Linked DNA regions of Homo sapiens: all the other regions are linked to region 4. Evidence: promoter capture Hi-C in 16 types of primary human blood cells and fetal thymus (Javierre and others, 2016). All regions are on one chromosome and are shown on one strand. Each heading gives the region's core, a stretch centred on a gene start or on the middle of the fragment in contact. The rest is flanking DNA. Distances are from core to core; before and after follow the strand shown.

The links. The method cuts DNA at HindIII sites, captures the fragments that hold promoters and counts their contacts. A CHiCAGO score of 5 or more calls a contact.
Region 1: a contact is called between a fragment that was not itself captured here and the fragment with the promoter of AGPAT5 in region 4, in 1 of 17 cell types (fetal thymus). The highest score is 5.7, in fetal thymus.
Region 2: a fragment that was not itself captured here is called in contact with the fragment with the promoter of AGPAT5 in region 4 in 2 of 17 cell types (total CD8 T cells and total CD4 T cells); the score reaches 6.5 in total CD8 T cells.
Region 3: a contact is called between a fragment that was not itself captured here and the fragment with the promoter of AGPAT5 in region 4, in 1 of 17 cell types (activated CD4 T cells). The highest score is 8.6, in activated CD4 T cells.
Region 5: a fragment that was not itself captured here is called in contact with the fragment with the promoter of AGPAT5 in region 4 in 1 of 17 cell types (erythroblasts); the score reaches 7.0 in erythroblasts.
Region 6: a contact is called between the fragment with the promoter of MFHAS1 here and the fragment with the promoter of AGPAT5 in region 4, in 1 of 17 cell types (fetal thymus). The highest score is 8.7, in fetal thymus.

The regions. Positions count from the first base shown.
Region 1 is chr8:8,871,657-8,874,356 of GRCh38, forward strand. All of the region lies in intron 1 of MFHAS1 (multifunctional ROCO family signaling regulator 1), which reads right to left. Among named protein-coding and RNA genes, the nearest start is that of MFHAS1, 21 kb to the right of the region's middle. The HindIII fragment of the contact is 1,084 bases long and covers 909-1,992 here.
Region 2 is chr8:9,548,619-9,551,318 of GRCh38, forward strand. No RefSeq gene overlaps it. Among named protein-coding and RNA genes, the nearest start is that of TNKS, 5.9 kb to the right of the region's middle. The HindIII fragment of the contact is 524 bases long and covers 1,071-1,594 here.
Region 3 is chr8:9,564,794-9,567,683 of GRCh38, forward strand. The region is part of intron 1 of TNKS (tankyrase); the gene reads left to right. Among named protein-coding and RNA genes, the nearest start is that of TNKS, 10 kb to the left of the region's middle. The HindIII fragment of the contact is 3,966 bases long and covers 1-2,890 here.
Region 4 is chr8:6,707,230-6,709,964 of GRCh38, forward strand. AGPAT5 (1-acylglycerol-3-phosphate O-acyltransferase 5) reads left to right here and starts at 1,413. Exons shown (of 8, transcript NM_018361.5): 1 at 1,413-1,658. The coding sequence starts at 1,440. It overlaps MCPH1-AS1 (MCPH1 antisense RNA 1), which reads right to left and starts at 980. Exons shown (of 5, transcript NR_125386.1): 1 at 912-980. RefSeq lists silencers at 1,167-1,506, 1,567-1,806. The HindIII fragment of the contact is 5,238 bases long and covers 1-2,735 here.
Region 5 is chr8:9,006,183-9,008,934 of GRCh38, forward strand. ERI1 (exoribonuclease 1) reads left to right here. Exons shown (of 7, transcript NM_153332.4): 2 at 1,788-1,966. Among named protein-coding and RNA genes, the nearest start is that of ERI1, 4.7 kb to the left of the region's middle. The HindIII fragment of the contact is 1,124 bases long and covers 815-1,938 here.
Region 6 is chr8:8,892,276-8,894,975 of GRCh38, forward strand. It overlaps MFHAS1 (multifunctional ROCO family signaling regulator 1), which reads right to left and starts at 1,355. Exons shown (of 3, transcript NM_004225.3): 1 at 1-1,355. The coding sequence starts at 783. RefSeq lists an enhancer at 1-736 and silencers at 581-850, 961-1,240, 1,251-1,500. The HindIII fragment of the contact is 4,068 bases long and covers 1-1,737 here.

The sequences.
Region 1 (2,700 bases), core at 201-2,700, 2.2 Mb after region 4:
AATTATTTTTACCTATTTACAGACGAAATTGAGGCCCAGGGAGGCCAAGTGGCTTCCCAGAGGTCCAGGCCCCCGACTTCCTAATCCACTGATTTAATTACATCCAAGGCTCAGATGCATGGGCTCAGATGTATGAATGGCATTCAAGAAGTGCCTGGGAGAGGTTAACATACTGCTGATAAAAGATGCAAGGCCTCTTTCTCTAATGCTGGTTTAATATAAAGCAAGTAAGCTGCATGGCAATATTCATCTCTAGCTACAGCTAAGGTGACACTTGTTCTGTCACCCTACCTAGGAAACCGTATCAACTCCCTGAGATGAAAATCTGCCCCATTCCAGAAATGAGCTAAATCAAAGGAGGGAGAAGGAAGGAAGAGGAGGCTAAGGCAAAAAGTTATTCACACTTTGCATAAACATGCCCGGATGGCAAGCATTATAAAACGATCTGTGTAACATAAGCTTCTGGGTCCATGGGAGGCAAGGGAGCATGTGACTGTGCACGGATATGAACAAAGCCAGCGACACACCACCAGATTCTTCAAAAGCAAATATTTGTCTATGACCAAAGAATCGGGATTCTTTTCTAACAAAGAGGAATGTACACCGTTCTAATTCCTGATTCTTCCTCCTGCTTTACAGTGGGTTATGATCTCGATGGAAATCCCCCCATGAATAAATGTGTCTGCAATCACAAATGGCCCCATAAATCAGAAGATTTATGAACTGTAAAAGGGGACGGCAGGAGGATTCCAACCTTGCAGCTTCCTTCATGCGGACCACCTGGGGCCGGATGCATGGCAGTTTATCACTTCCTGGAAACAGTCATCTGGCTTTTCTTTTTAGCTAAGCAAGAAAATGTTATCAGCCCTGGTAATCAACAAGATGCAATCATCCCTGCTATTTGGGTAAGCTTTTAATGCCGCACCACATTACACAGAGGAGGCTCAGATGCATAGGCTCGGATGCATGAACAGCATTCAAGAAGTGTCTGGGAGAGGTTAACACACAGCTGATAAGCTCTGGCTGGCTGCAGTGAGGCCTGGCCCAACAGCCCCTAAGGCAAATTCCTGAAGGGACTAAATAGAAAATGAGTGGATATTCCCTATTCCAAGGGAAAAAATAAAAATAAAAAAAAAGATGGGAACAATACAGTAACCAGGGAAAAGCACAGAGCATGCACATGTGTGTTTTTCTTGGGGAGGGGGAAATGCATATATTTCAGAGGCTTAACAAATACATTCAAAAGAACACCTGCTCCATCCCAGACAGGCAGCAGAACATCGTGCAAGAGTGAGACGGAGACAACCGGGCAGTGCCACTCGTGAGCCATCTGGGAGTGAGGGGTGTCAGGGAAGGGGACAGATGCACCCTACAGGGCTTTGCATCCCAGTTCTTATTACTGTACCTTGGGCACAAAACAGCCCAGCTCTAGGCAAGCCAGTGAGCCATTTTTGGTATCATAGTGTTCTTTTGGAAAATTCACATTTCTATTTTTAGTTCTTCCACATGCAATTCATAAGCAATAGCCCTCCGGAATCAAAGTCACCTCAGCTATGCCATGAGTCAAGAGAATCCCAGTGAATATATTTTTTAATAGCATGTTCAGGGAAAATGTGACCAGCTCTGTTCGGCCATACTGTCTGCATTGACTTGGCAGTTAGCATGAAATGAAGGATTTTAAAGACCAAACACTTCAATGAGTCCTGTGAAAAAAACTCCCAAGAACCTGACTGGGGACTTTGTTAGCTTGAAATAAATATATACGTCATTAAGTATGTTTTAAACACAGAAGCAACTATAACAGGATTTAATTGCTTACTTTTTTTTTTTTTTTTTACAGGTCAAACACATTTTAGAGTGCTGGGTTACACCCACTCTTTCTTCATCACATGTACAGAAAGGCAAAGAGTGTGGGTAATCTCTTAAATTTTAAATTCCCACTTGGTATGAGGATAAAACATCCAAGAAACATTTCCTGTGCAGAACACACCAAGCTTAGGTGTAGAAAATACAACGGTGTGGAACTCGAGAGGATGGTTCTAGGATACAAATAAAAACAACCACGCAGCGCGGGAAGATTTTTGTTTAGAAAACAGATGGGACAGAAAGGCAGATGCAATGTTTTGAGTCAATGAGATACAGTTCGTTCTTAATTATATTTCATTGATTTCTTACATGGACAGAACATCATTCTTGCTGCCACTGTTTTATTTTGATCAGCGGTATATCTATCTGTAAACATGTACAATTTGTAATTATTGCTATGTCTAAACACTGCATCACGTGTAATGGCTGAATTAAGCTGTGAAATGCGTAATTATGCTGAAAACAATGGTGTTCCAATACACATCACCAAAGCCAATTTAAAAAAATTACCTTGTTTCAAATCACAAAGCGAAGCCTTCATAACCCTCGAGGCTTTTTTTAGGTCCCACCACTTTGATTTAGAGATTTGTCTTTTTCTAATTGCATCTCAAGAGTGTTCCGAGCACAGAGAGGGATTATTAACCCTGAAGGAAATAAAACTGAGTATTTCTTACACCTCTGGAAGGTGGAGAACGTACTTAGTTTAACAATCTGGAAAGGATCAAAGGTCTGCCGGTATAGGTGTGACTGAACAATACATCCATTGGTAGACTACTATGCTATATTTGTAGGATATACTATAACATTCTACACACACACACACACACACACACA
Region 2 (2,700 bases), core at 83-2,582, 2.8 Mb after region 4:
CACCACCATGCCTGGCTAATTTTTGTATTTTTCAGGACACAGGATTTCGCCATGTTGCCCAGGCTGGTCTCAAACTCCTGGGCTCAAGTGATGCTCTCACCTTGGCCTCTCACAGTGCTGGGATTACAGGCGTGGGCCCACCACGCCTGACCACAATGGTCCTTTTAAGAGTGCAGTAGGAGTAGGGAGAGTCAAACAGAAGATGATGGGATGGAACCAGAGATGAGTGATGTGCTTTTAGGACGTAGGAAAAGGTCACAAGCCAAAGACTACAGGCAGCCACTAGAAGCTGAAAAAGTCAAGGAAAGAGATTCTCCCCTCAAAGCTCTCAGAAGAAAATTCTCCCCAAAGTCCTCATAAGATGCCAACATTGCCGATGCCTTGACTTTAGCCCAGTGAAACTGATTCCAAACTTCTGCCCCAGAACCGTAGGAGAATACATTTGTATTGTACCGTTTCAAGGCACTAAGTCTGTGGTCATTTGTTATAGCAGCTATAGGGGACTAGTATACCCAGCCTCTTAACTGAGTAAAGCCAGAAAGATGTACATGAACAAAAGGAACGATGGAGAATAATTGCCCTCTGGTAATACCAAGTGGCAGAAACTATGCCACTTCAGTCTATTGTCCTGTATAAAAATAGGCTGATGGCTTCATATCACCTGATTTTCCAAAGAGGGCATGTATTAGTTTTCTTTTGCTGCTGTAACAAATTATCACAAACATAGTAGCTTAACACAAATATATTTTACAGTTCTGCAGTCATAAATCTGGCATTGGTACCATTGGGCTAAAATCAAGGTGTTAGCAGGATTGAGTTATTTTCTGGGGGCTCTAGGGAAGAATCTGTTTCCTTTTCTTTTGCAACTTCCAGAGACTGCTCACATTCCTTGGCTTGTGGATTCTTCCATCACCTTCAAAGCCAGCACTGACTGGTTGAGTCTTCACATGGTATTACTTTCAACCTCCTTCTGTGTCTCCCTTTTGTACCTATAAGGATGCTGATGATTACATTAGGCCCACTCACATAATCCAGGAAAGTCTCCCTGTTCTAAAGTCTGTTGATTAGCAAGCTTAAATTCCATCTTCGATGTTCATTCCACTTTGCCACATAAAGTAACATATCTGCAGCTTCCAGAGATTTGGACTTGAGTATCTTTGAGGTGCCATTATTCTGCCCACCTTAAATGTGGATATAAAAATACATTGTAGATTGCTGTATTATCTGTAGTCTTTGATTTTTTTAGGTTTTCTGTTTTTTCTCTCATGTTGTTGGCCCTCTCTCATGTGTGGTGATTCAAGGTTGTAAATTCATCTTCTGTGGGATGTTCCTTCTGCAAACATCCTGGACCACACTGACTTCAGGAATTATGGCTGTGTTGGTTTCTCTTGAGGTGGTCTTGGCAGCTGTGGTGGTTTTCCACACAACAGAGATGGTTTCTCAGCACTGCAGGGAGGAATATGTTTGAGAGAAACCTGCCTACCTCAGGCTGAGGTGCCTTCCTTTGTAGAGTTTCTATCTCTCCTAAATCCTGACCACAGCCAGAAGGGACTATTTGCATTTCCCTTAATATAAGAGTCCCTTTTCATTTCCAAGCTTATTAGACCTTCCTTTAAGACACTGTAAAGCAAAAGCAGCAGCATGCATGGGAAGCCAAATAACAACAATATTGAGTAAAAGGAGACCTGCTTGTTGTTGGGCAGACAAGACTAGTGTCTCTTAGGTGACCTTTATACAAAGTATATCCCATCCCTGTTCTTGATAACAATAAAAGCTGACACTTACATTCCATTTATCACATGCCAGAAACTGTTTATTGCACTTGGCATATATTAACTTACTAATTTCTCAGAACAACTATTAATGTCTCTACTTCGTGTCTCTACTTTGCAGGTGAGTTTACAAAGAGGTTGTGTTAGTTTGTTCTCACACTGCTACACGGACATACCAGAGACTGGGTAATGTATAAAGGAAAGAGGTTTAATTGACTCACCGTTCCACAGGGCTGGGGAGGCCTCAGGAAACCTACAATGATGGCAGAAGGGGAAGCAAACATGTCCTTCTTCACATGGTGGCAGCAAGGAGAAATGCAGAGCAAAATGGGGAAACGCCCCTTATAAAACCATCAGATCTCATGAGAACGCACTCATTATCATGAGAACAGCATGAGGGTAACCATCCCCATGACTAAATTACCTTCTACGAGGTCCCTCCCATGACATGTGGGGACTGGGGAACTATAATTCAAGATGAGATTTGAGTGGGGACACAGCCAAACCATACCAGAGGTTAAATGACTTATCCTGGATTGTACAGTATTTTTTTCTGAGCAACTCAGCATCAAAAGACCTAGGTTCAGGATATGGAGGAATAGGTAATACCAAGAGAAGTTACACACATACACCACTTAAACAGCTTTCATTCATTTCCTTCTTTCAACAAGCCAAGTAACAACAGCAAGCAAGTAAAAGGAGATAGTGGGTGGAAGGCACATACCACATGTTTGGGGATTGATTAATGCCTCTCACTGCCTGGGCTGCCACTCATTCTCAGCCGGTATTTCTGATGGTCTCTGCTGGCAGATGTCTTTGCCCCAATCTTTGCCATTGGTTGGAGTCACCTCACGGTCAGTATGTGGTAGTCACGACCCCTCAAGCAGTGGCGGGAATCCACATTCATCATGGCTTGGTGGGTTGTCCC
Region 3 (2,890 bases), core at 331-2,830, 2.9 Mb after region 4:
AAGATAAGATGGGTTGGAGTCTGAGGGCTAGGTGCAGCCTCCCCTTACGGGGCTTAATAAAACCAATGAAACATACACGAGAAAGAAACATTCAGAAATGGACTTTCAGTTTCTTGGTGAATAAAAAGCATTATATCTTCAAGAAAAAATGAGTAGGGTGGGTTTCCTAGGGATTTCTACTAAAGCCTAGGAGCTCAGGATAACCCCGGGGCTCATTAAAAAAAAAAAATCACTTTGATTTCAAGTAATTGAGGAAAGTTTTAGGTGTTTTGTTTTTGTGTGCCCGTTGTTTTTCTTTTAAGGCTTCATCAGATGTCTAAGTTTGCTTTCACCAGAGCGAGTTACTGAGTTCTCTTCTCGAATCTTGTTTTGCCAGTTTGTTCAGGTATCTGTTTATAGAATTAAAGCAGCGTGAGGGTAAACTTTTTTTTAAGCTGTTTTTTGGAGTGTGTCAGCTCCCCATTCAATTTAGACAAGTTATTTATTTATTTATTTATTTTGGTTTTGGAAGAGGGAAAATAACGTGATGTAAAATTTTTTCTCTATCCCTTTTGCCTTTTCAGTAGAACAAACTAAACTGCTGGTAGGTGGCAGATGTTTGGACTTGTTTATTTTTTCTTCTTTGGTATATTTTCTTTTAAAGTGAGGAAGCATTTGGTAGTTAGCAGATGATTTCCATGAACTACAAGTCCAAACTGAACAAAATTTGTTTTAAATTTACTGATTGACTCAAAAAACCTTAAAGCTATAGTCTCTGTGTCATTAGTTCAAAAATAAACTAAACCAGCCAGGCGTGGTGGCTCACGCCTGTAATCCCAGCACTTTGGGAGGGCGGATCACAAGGTCAGGAGATGGAGGCCATCCTGGCTAGCACAGTGAAACCCCGTCTCTACTAAAAATACACACACACAAAATTAGCCTGGCGTGGTGGCGGGCGCCTGTTGTCCCAGCTACTCGGGAGGCTGAGGCAGGAGAATGGCGTGAACCCCGGAGGCAGAGCTTGCAGTGAGCCGAGATCACGCCACTGCACTCCAGCCTGGGTGACAGAGCAAGACTCCGTCTCAAAAAAAATAAAAATAAATAAAAATAAAAATAAACTAAACTCCCTGATGCCTTGTTAAAGTGTGTGTATACACACTTTTTTGTGTCTACATGTATATAACTTATTATATATGTCAAATTATATGTTGACATATATATTATATACATAGTAAGTAGACATTGAAAAGTTCTGATGCCCTCATTCTGATAATACTCATCAACCGTAGAAACCATTTTGACATTCTCATCAGTCATGTTAATAAGATGTGCAGGTCTCCTCTTCCAAATGCTTGGGTTATTCTCATGTTGACTGTGGAAATTTGGTATTTTCAAAAGAAATGACATAGAATTACACTTAGTTAATACATCTTAGCTATTTTTTTCTAATGTCTTGAGGTACCAACTTATGTTTTTCTTCTTTGCAGGAAAATATTCTTATTTGGAAAAAGAAAACTTTTTGGATAAATTTTTGAAACTTTGAGCAAGCTATCAAAAGTTGTCTGCCTCCTCCTTCTCCCCAGCCCCAAAATACACAGACTTAACAACAGAAAAATATAACTGTTATCCTATGTTAATTTATGAAAGCAGATAAATATGGGGTATATAATAAGATAATTTCATTATTTAATTCAATGAATTGCTTGTTTTAGTGCTCTGTAAGTATTTGAACAAGTAAACTTTTTGAGTTAACACTTCTGATTTCTGATCTTCTGACATTCTTAAGTACATAAATATTAATCCTCGTATATTAGCCCAGTCTTTTTTTTTTTTTTTTTTTTTTTTTTGAGACGGAGTCTCGCTCTGTCGCCCAGGCCGGACTGCGGACTGCAGTGGCGCAATCTCGGCTCACTGCAAGCTCCGCCTCCCGGGTTCACGCCATTCTCCTGCCTCAGCCTCCCGAGTAGCTGGGACTACAGGCGCCCGCCACCGCGCCCGGCTAATTTTTTGTATTTTTAGTAGAGACGGGGTTTCACCTTGTTAGCCAGGATGGTCTCGATCTCCTGCCCTCATGATCCACCCGCCTCGGCCTCCCAAAGTGCTGGGATTACAGGCGTGAGCCACCGCGCCCGGCCTAGCCCAGTCTTTTGTCATCAGAGTCCAAGGTCACATAGCTAGCTTTTAAGTAATGGTGCCAGATTTAAACCCAATCTGGTTGTCGTAAAATCATTTGGTCTGTGCTACTCAAATGGAAAGTTGATAGCAATGAGAAATAAAATCTGTATTTTGTGTCATTTTGTAATCTGACGATTCTTACTGCTTTCTCAAGTTGGTTTTCTGGTAATAAACGTAACTTTACAAATTTTGGAAAGTACAGTAAAAAGTAGGGCATCATCTTCCCACCCCAAGGGAGCTACTAGTGATTTTGACATATTCCCTCCAGTCCTTCTCTTAGGCATTTAAAGTAAAACTTTTTTGTAAGTATGGTATTGGAACATTTGCAGTTACTAGAATGTTGGGACTATCTGGTCTTTTGTTCAGTTGATTGTTTTTATAAACATAAAAAGTGTGATTGGAAGTAATCTTTGAAGAACCTCATAACTAAATGGAAGAAGGAAGGATATTTTAGCAACTGCTTTCTTATTTATTTATTTTTTTTTTGAGACGGAGTCTCGCTCTGTCGCCCAGGCTGGAGCGCAGTGGCGCGATCTTGGCTCACTGCAAGCTCTGCCTCCCGGGTTCACGCCATTCTCCTGCCTCAGCCTCCCGAGTAGCTGGGACTACAGGCGCCCGCCACCACGCCCGGCTAATTTTTTTTGTATTTTTAGTAGAGACGGGGTTTCACCGTGTTAGCGAGGATGGTCTCGTTCTCCTGATCTTGTGATCTGCCCGCCTTGGCCTCCCAAAGTGG
Region 4 (2,735 bases), core at 163-2,662:
CCTGGCCCTGATTAGAACTTCCCACTGAAATACCGTCCTGCCTAAAGGTAGCACAGGCTCCCATTATGGTGGTGGTGGGGAGGGGGCGGGAATATATATATATATATATATATATATATATATATATATATGGTAAAGCATTCGGCATTCTTTTAAAGTACAACTATCCTTGAAAAGGGTTACATATTAAACCATTTTTACCACAGCCAAAGGGGAGGAGAAAGATCCAAAAGTCCTGTGGATCTGCTTTAACATCAATAAAACAGTTATCCACCCTTCGTAGCTTTTAGTGAAGGCTACAAAAGTATGCTTTTTATGGATTACACATGTGCACGCAACTACTTTAATTACTACAGAAAAAAACGAGGCTCCTTATTAAAAAAAAATCAGAAACAAGTCCAACAGACTCTGAGGAAATGAAGCAAGAGTGAATTCTGAAAAGGTCTAATAAACAGTATGGAAATATCCTTGTGGGATTGTTCTTCAGCTATGCATAAACATGTAATTATCATCATTACTGTGATGGGGAAAAACACGGACCCTAATTCTGAAACACCCTGGTAGCGAGAGACGGGCAGGAGGGGCTGCTGCGCACTCAGAGCGGAGGCTGAGGAGGCGGCGTCCCCTTGCAAAGGACTGGCAGTGAGCAGATGGGGACACTCGAGCTGCCCCGCGACCTGGGCCGAGCTGCCTACAACCTGGGCCCAGGTGCCTGCAAGAATTAGACCTCCGATAACGTTAACACCCACTTTCTCACTGCTCTAATTGTGTGCATCCCGGCGCCCAGGGGCTTGTGAGCAGCAGGTGCGCGTTCCAGGCAGCTCCAGCGACCCTTAAACCTGACCGCGCGCACGTCCGGCCCGAGGGAGCAGAACAAGAGGCACCCGGACCCTCCTCCGGCCAGCACCCACCTTCACCCAGTTCCGTCAGTCGCCACCACCTCCCTTCCCGCGTCCGCAGCCGGCCCAGCTGGGGAGCATGCGCAGTGGCCGGAGCCGGGTTGCCCGCGCCCCAGCAGGTAGCTGTACTGCAACTGTCGGCCCAAACCAACCAATCAAGAGACGTGTTATTGCCGCCGAGGTGGAACTATGGCAACGGGCGACCAATCAGAAGGCGCGTTGTTGCCGCGGAGCCCCCTGCCCCGGCAGGGGGATGTGGCGATGGGTGAGGGTCATGGGGTGTGAGCATCCCTGAGCCATCGATCCGGGAGGGCCGCGGGTTCCCTTGCTTTGCCGCCGGGAGCGGCGCACGCAGCCCCGCACTCGCCTACCCGGCCCCGGGCGGCGGCGCGGCCCATGCGGCTGGGGGCGGAGGCTGGGAGCGGGTGGCGGGCGCGGCGGCCCGGGCCCGGGCGGTGATTGGCCGCCTGCTGGCCGCGACTGAGGCCCGGGAGGCGGGCGGGGAGCGCAGGCGGAGCTCGCTGCCGCCGAGCTGAGAAGATGCTGCTGTCCCTGGTGCTCCACACGTACTCCATGCGCTACCTGCTGCCCAGCGTCGTGCTCCTGGGCACGGCGCCCACCTACGTGTTGGCCTGGGGGGTCTGGCGGCTGCTCTCCGCCTTCCTGCCCGCCCGCTTCTACCAAGCGCTGGACGACCGGCTCTACTGCGTCTACCAGAGCATGGTGCTCTTCTTCTTCGAGAATTACACCGGGGTCCAGGTGAGCCGCCTCCCGCTCCCGGGTCTCGGCGTCCACCCGAGCTCCCGGGGGCGCGGACCTCTCCGCTCCCCCACAGCTGGCGAGGGTCACCCGGCCGGCCCGGCGGACCCAGCACGGAGAGCACGTGCCGCCTCCCCGCCTTCCTCTCCGCATGCTTCCTGCCGTTCTGCCGAGATCGCTCTCTAGGAAGCTGTGGCTGCGTCGTCCTGAGGCTACGAGTGGGACCCGCCGCCCCTTTCCCCGCCCCTCGCCTGGGTCTGATGCTGCTTAGCAAAGTGGGTGCAGATGCACGTTTTAAATAATAGGGCACGCGTTTAGCAGTTTCTGGCCTTTGGTCCAAAGAGGTGGTCATGTTGGAACAGATCGGAGACGTCTACACTCCGAAGTGCGCTTTTACAGTGACCTCTTGAAACAGAAGTACAATTCGGTCTTGTGTTCTTTCCCCTGGACAAGTGAAAGCTGGGCGAAGAAATGAATACATTTGTTAACCGTAGAAGCCTAACTAGATACATTTCTTGCCAACTTTAACTGGGCTTGAATGTGTGGGTGATCTGTTGTCTGATTACTTTCTTTCTGTTACTGTTTCTCTGTAGAGATTGGATTCGTAGATTAAACTTGAGAAACAAACCATAAAAGTGGAAGGCCCTCTTTAACAGTAGGTATTTGAAGTGTTATAAAAAAAAAAAAAAGGTGAATTTTTCTTTTATTTCTCAGTTTGAAAGAACAGCTTTATTCTTGGTTATTCCTAATGTCCACCTAGTCCTCTTTTACTTTTCTTGGTAGGGTTAGGGTGGCATGGGGAAATGGGACGGTATCATTTTGTCTTTTTAACTTTTTTTTTTTCCACCTACAGCAGCTGTTTTTACCCTGTGGTCAGTCAGGTACTATATTTAGTTTGCAGTTGCACTGCTGATCGACCCTTGATGGCCCCAGTTGGAAGTTGTTTGGGGGGAAGGAACTAGGAGAGGCCAGGGCCTCCATTTAAACCAGTGTCTGTAAGTGTCTCCTTGGAAAGAAAAAAAGATACTGTTCCAGGTCATGGTTTCCTGGTAGTTGACGTTTAAAATGGGCCTCATT
Region 5 (2,752 bases), core at 127-2,626, 2.3 Mb after region 4:
CCTTCTTTGTGAACCATTAGTGTAGATTTGAAATTTGGGAGGAGACACTGCTTTCTGAGGATTGGACCTCGGCTGTCTCTAGAACTTCACTGAAGGAAGAGAACTAGAGCTGGACCTAGGAAAGGAAGCAAATTTTTCTTTATGGAAGTCATAATTTATAGCATCTATAGAAGAGGCCTAAGTGTTACTTGTGAATAATTTTTCTAGCTACAGTTTAGGATGAGAATTAACCAGTGAATCAGAAAGAGGATTTATCCAAAGAGAAAATCTGCTTAAATTAACTGAGACATCTGTTTTGGTAGACAAACTGTTACTTAATGTTGACCTAAATTTTAACCTGAAATTTACTAAATGATGACTAAAGATGAAGTTTCAAATTCAATGTAAATTTAAAGTCAAAAGATAATTTTTTGTAAAATTCTGGTCAAGCAGAGCAATATCTATTGTAAATCTAATATATTGTTGAAAGTGAATCATTGGTCAACTAGCAATACTTTTTTTTTCCTTAACATTGTTAACAAGGAACCTCAGTGTGGCTGTTCTTTAATTTATGGACAGTTCACACATTGGAACTGCTGACCTCTTCCTCAAAGGAAATGGGTGAGTCACTCTTGAGTACTCTGGCACCTTACCTAGCATTACATTTCCAGTAAATGTGTGTTGCATTAAATTGAGAGCTTAGAGTAAGAAATGGTTCCTGAACCATCAGGATCAGTTCTGAGTTAGGGACTGTGGCCTCTCTGTGATTATCCTTCCTTGATCTATAATTACAGTTTACGTGAGGACAATGTGGTACATTATAACTAAGGTAACAAGCTTTAATAGGGATAATTAGTACTAAATATTTTTCAAAATTATGGAACATAGCTAATATTTGTGATATTGCATGTGGAAAATAACTTACAAATGAATCTTTGGAACTTAACATATTAGTAATTTGAGACTGCCTGTGGAGAAAATAGAATTGAGTCATGTTTTTTCTTAACAGATTTTTATTTATGAAAAAATTCATAATTCTATAGTTCTTCTGGTTAGTGGACCTAAGTACAACTTTTGGAAAATGTAAGTTTTGAAATTAAATACATTTCCTTCTTTGAGTACTAGGAAGCTGTAAATTAGATTTGCGGTCCATTTTGTTTTTATGTTGGGCAATTTTTGTTAACTTTGTGAAATGAAGTCAGGTTAAAAAATTATCAGAAGTTATTACACATGTATAATGTAAAAGTTCATTTAAAAATGGGTTCATTTGTAAATATTAGCATATTGTTTGTGAAGGGCTTGTTGTATAGCCTGTGATATTAATAGTTACCATTTATTAATAGCTACTGTGGGTGTAGGGGTCTGATACACATAATCTCATTTAATCTTTGTAATAATTCTGCCCAAACACTATTTACCATTACCAAATTACCATTTTATAGATAAGGAAATTGAGGATCAGAGGCTAATACGTAGCTATCCAAAGTCATGCTGCTATTTCTAGTAAATAGTCAGCTGGGGTTCTCTATTGAGGTGGTGTTGACTCCCACCACCAGTCTTCTTTTTACTTAGCTTTGTTTCCTTTGAGGAACCTCATGACTCATAATAGAGTGGGGTAAATTGTATTGGAGACGCATCTTCCTTCTTATCCTTTCCTCCGTTTAGGAGCTGCAGTGAACACTTTTCATTGAACATGTAGCATGAAGAGGCTTCAGAAGTTTGAAAGTTTGAATCTTTAAATCTGTGATGTTTGTACTAATTATAAACTACATCCTTTTTTTTTTTTTTTTTTTTTTTTTTTTTGGTAGGAAACTCAACAGTGTAAATTTGATGGCCAGGAGACAAAAGGATCCAAGTTCATTACCTCCAGTGCGAGTGACTTCAGTGACCCGGTTTACAAAGAGATTGCCATTACGAATGGCTGTATTAATAGAATGAGTAAGGAAGAACTCAGAGCTAAGCTTTCAGAATTCAAGCTTGAAACTAGGTAATTAAAAATAACTTATAAAATTATAAAAGTAGTACATGCTCATTTTAGAAAATCTTGAAAACATTGAAATATTAAAAATCATCTGTAATCCTACCGTAATGACATGATCCTATTAACAGTTCACAAAAACTAATTAACATTTTTTATGTGCAACTCTGATTATTTTTGTCTGTCTTCTAGATGATAGGACTGCTGAATCAAAGTCAAATATTTTAATGACCTACCGGCAATGTATAGGAGTCTCTGTCTTATTATGACAAGAGTGTTTTAAATTTTTTTAGTTGCTCATTTAAATGATGGATAGTTATATTAGTGAGATAGAGTATTTTTTATTTTCTTTTTGCCATTTGTATCTTTTATAAAAAGAGTTTGTTTGAAATCAGGTACAATAAATTAAAAACATTCACTTAACAGGAATATTTTTTGTTTTAATTTCTAAAAAATAATCTACAATGATCGTTTGCATTATGTTTCACTGTATATTGAGTGAGAAAACAATGCAACTTAGTCAACTGTATGTGTATTTTAATGAGATATACACATACCTAAGTTTTTAGTAATTTTTTGCGAAACAAATCACTTTACGTTCATTGGGCCATGGGGCAGAAATGGCTTTTGGAGTCCAGAAAAATACATCGATTTTTGATAAACGGTAGAACTGCCAGGCATCAAGAAAAAAAATTGCCTGTATGAAATAGGTAAAAACTCTTCCTTTTTCAAGACATCTCTGAATCATAATTCTCTTAATAGTAGTATTCTTCCTCTTTAGAGTTTCACCACTCT
Region 6 (2,700 bases), core at 105-2,604, 2.2 Mb after region 4:
CCCGTTGTTGTCTAGCATGAGGCTCTCCAAACTGGCCAGCTCGCAGAAGCCGGCGGGCAGCGTGCCAAGCTCGGCCCCACTCAGCCAGAGGATCTTGAGGGCACGCAGGGCACTGATATCCTCAGGCAGGCCCCGCAGCCGGTTGCTGGACACGTCCAGCTCCTCCAGGGCCACCAGCTGCAGCAGCTGCCGGGGGAAGGCAGTGAGCTGGTTGTGATCCACGTCCAGGGTGCGCAGGCGGGAGAGGCAGGAGAGGGAGTCAGGCAGGTGCGCCAGCCGGTTAAAGCTGACATCCAGCTCCTCCAGGTGAGCGAGAGCGCCCAGCTGGGCGGGCAGGGCGGGCAGCTGGTTGTGGCTGAGGTTGAGCTTCCGCAGCTCCCTCAGAGCACTCACCACCTCCGCGCCCAGGGCGGTCAGCCGGTTGTGGCTCACGTCCAGCTCGGTGAGGTGGTGGCCGAGCTCGGCCACCGCCGGGGGCAGCCGGGCGAAGCGGTTCCTGCGCAGGACCAGGACGCGCAGGCTGCCCAGCGCCGACCCCAGCCCCTCGGGTACCTCCTCCAGGCCGTTGTTCCCCAGGTTCAGTGCCTCAATGTCCCCGAGGTTGGCCGGCAGCACGAGCTGGGGGGAGGCGGGGGACTCGAGCGCGTCGGCCCCGGCCCCGGGGCAGGCCCCGGCGGCGGTAAGCGTGAGCTGGCGCAGGTTGCTCCGCAGCTTCCTGGCACGCAGGGCGGCGTCCCGCCACAGCCTCGCGGTCTTCAGGTTGCCACTGTCCATCCCAGCCATGGCGGGGCCCCGGGCCGACAGCCTCACGCGGACGCGGGAGCCCGCAGCTACATGCCGCGCCGCGCCCCGGGCCCTCCGGCTCCTGCCCCTGCCTGCCCTCCCGCGCTCGGCGGCCGGCGGCCGCGGGTCCTAGCGCAGCCAGCGGCCGAGCGCTGGCGGCTAGGGGGCGGCGGCGACGCGAGCGGCTCCGGGGGACGCCGAGCGCGTGGAGAGCAGCTTGCATTCTCCCTGCGGCCGGGCCATGGGCGCGCCGGGCAGCAGGGCCGCCGCCCGCGCGCCGCGGAGGATGCCTGCTCCTCCTCCCTCTCCGCCCGCCGCGCGGCGCCTCGGGGGGCCCGGCTCCGGCCCCGCTACCCTCGCAGCCGCGGTCCCGCGGCCGGCAGCGGCGTCGCCTCCTCGAGCTCCTGGGGGAGGGCGGCGCTCGGCCCGGCGGCGGGCATGCTGCGGGCGCAGGGCTGGGGCGCAGCCGCGGGGAGGGGGCGGCGGCGCCTCCTTGTCTCCGTTTCCCCGGGCTCGGGCGGGAGCGCGGGCGCCGCGTCCCCGGCGCTGGGAGGGCGCGATTGGGAAGCGGCAGCGCCGCCCGCCGGAGCGGCCCCCACGTGACCGGCGGAGGCGCCGCGTTTTCCCGGCACCGCCCCGGGGGCGGGAGCTGCGGAGGGCGCCGGGTGCGGGGCCGGGGGCGCCTGGCGCGGGGCCGGGTCCGCGCCCCGGACCATGCTGGGCGGGGAGGTCGTCCCAGCGGCGGATGTGGGGCTCCGGGGCCCCCCTGGTGGGTTCGCCCGCGCCTGGCTCTTTGTTGGCCCCCAGTCTCTAAGGATTTCTTTTTCTTGTTCTCTAATGCGTCGGATCCGCCGGCTTCCCTTACTCATCCTTTACCTGCTCCCCTGCCGCTCGCCTTGCATCCACGCCGTAGTGGAACTGGCACAACTCGGGGGCCCTGGGTATCATCATAGAAGCTTAGGACAAGAGTGTGGTTAAACAAAATTAGAACAGGCAACCATTCATTCATTTGGTAAATATTTCCTGAGGCCCTATTTCGTGTTGAACATGGGACAGGAGTAATGCAGGCTGGTCAGAGGAGAATAAAAAATACCAGGCAGCAGTTTCACTTGACTGGAGGCTATGGGCTGATAAGACCCTGAAAACCAGGGTGTGTACCAAGCTGGCTAAGACCGGCTGGACCCGACGTGGTCCTGGATTTGACCTAGGTTTCTCCTAGGCCTCCATTATACGCTCTTTAACATCCTAAGTCACACCAGTGCCATGACAATTCCGGGGACACCCATATTTGAAGTAAAAATGGGTGGCACCACAGTCCCGAAAAATCTCCACACTTTTCCAGGAATTTTCATGAATATTTCACCCCTTGGTTAAAGAAACCCATAAAGGTAGCAGCCCCAAGCCCCGTTGTGAGTGACCCTCTCCACAATCCCTTTTCCTGGGTGTGTACTTTTCCCTTTGCAATAAATCTGCATATTGTCACTATTTTCTGAGTTGTCCTTGAACTCATTCTCTGGATGTGTCAAGAGCCTGGACATTGGCTGGGGTCAAGGTCGCACTGGCTTTAGAGGATCTCCCCCAGCCCACCCGTACCAGAACTACTAAAAGACGGTTTTAACCCCCCTGGGGAAGGCTTTTGAGCAGGTGGCCCGCCAGCCTAAAGGAGGGTTGTTAAGATGGGGGGGACACAAGCTGTTTATCTGGGGTATCCCGTTTATCTTCACAACAACGCTGTGAAACAAATACTGTATCCCCATTAATACAGTACCTGTTGTTCTGCGGACTCAAGAAAACAGCTATTTTGGGAAACAGTCACAGTCCATTGTTCAACTCTAATGCTTATTTTTATTGCTGTTAGGAAATGTTTCTTTGAGCTCACATCTATGCTAAGTCAATAATTTCTCCCGAACTTATGAA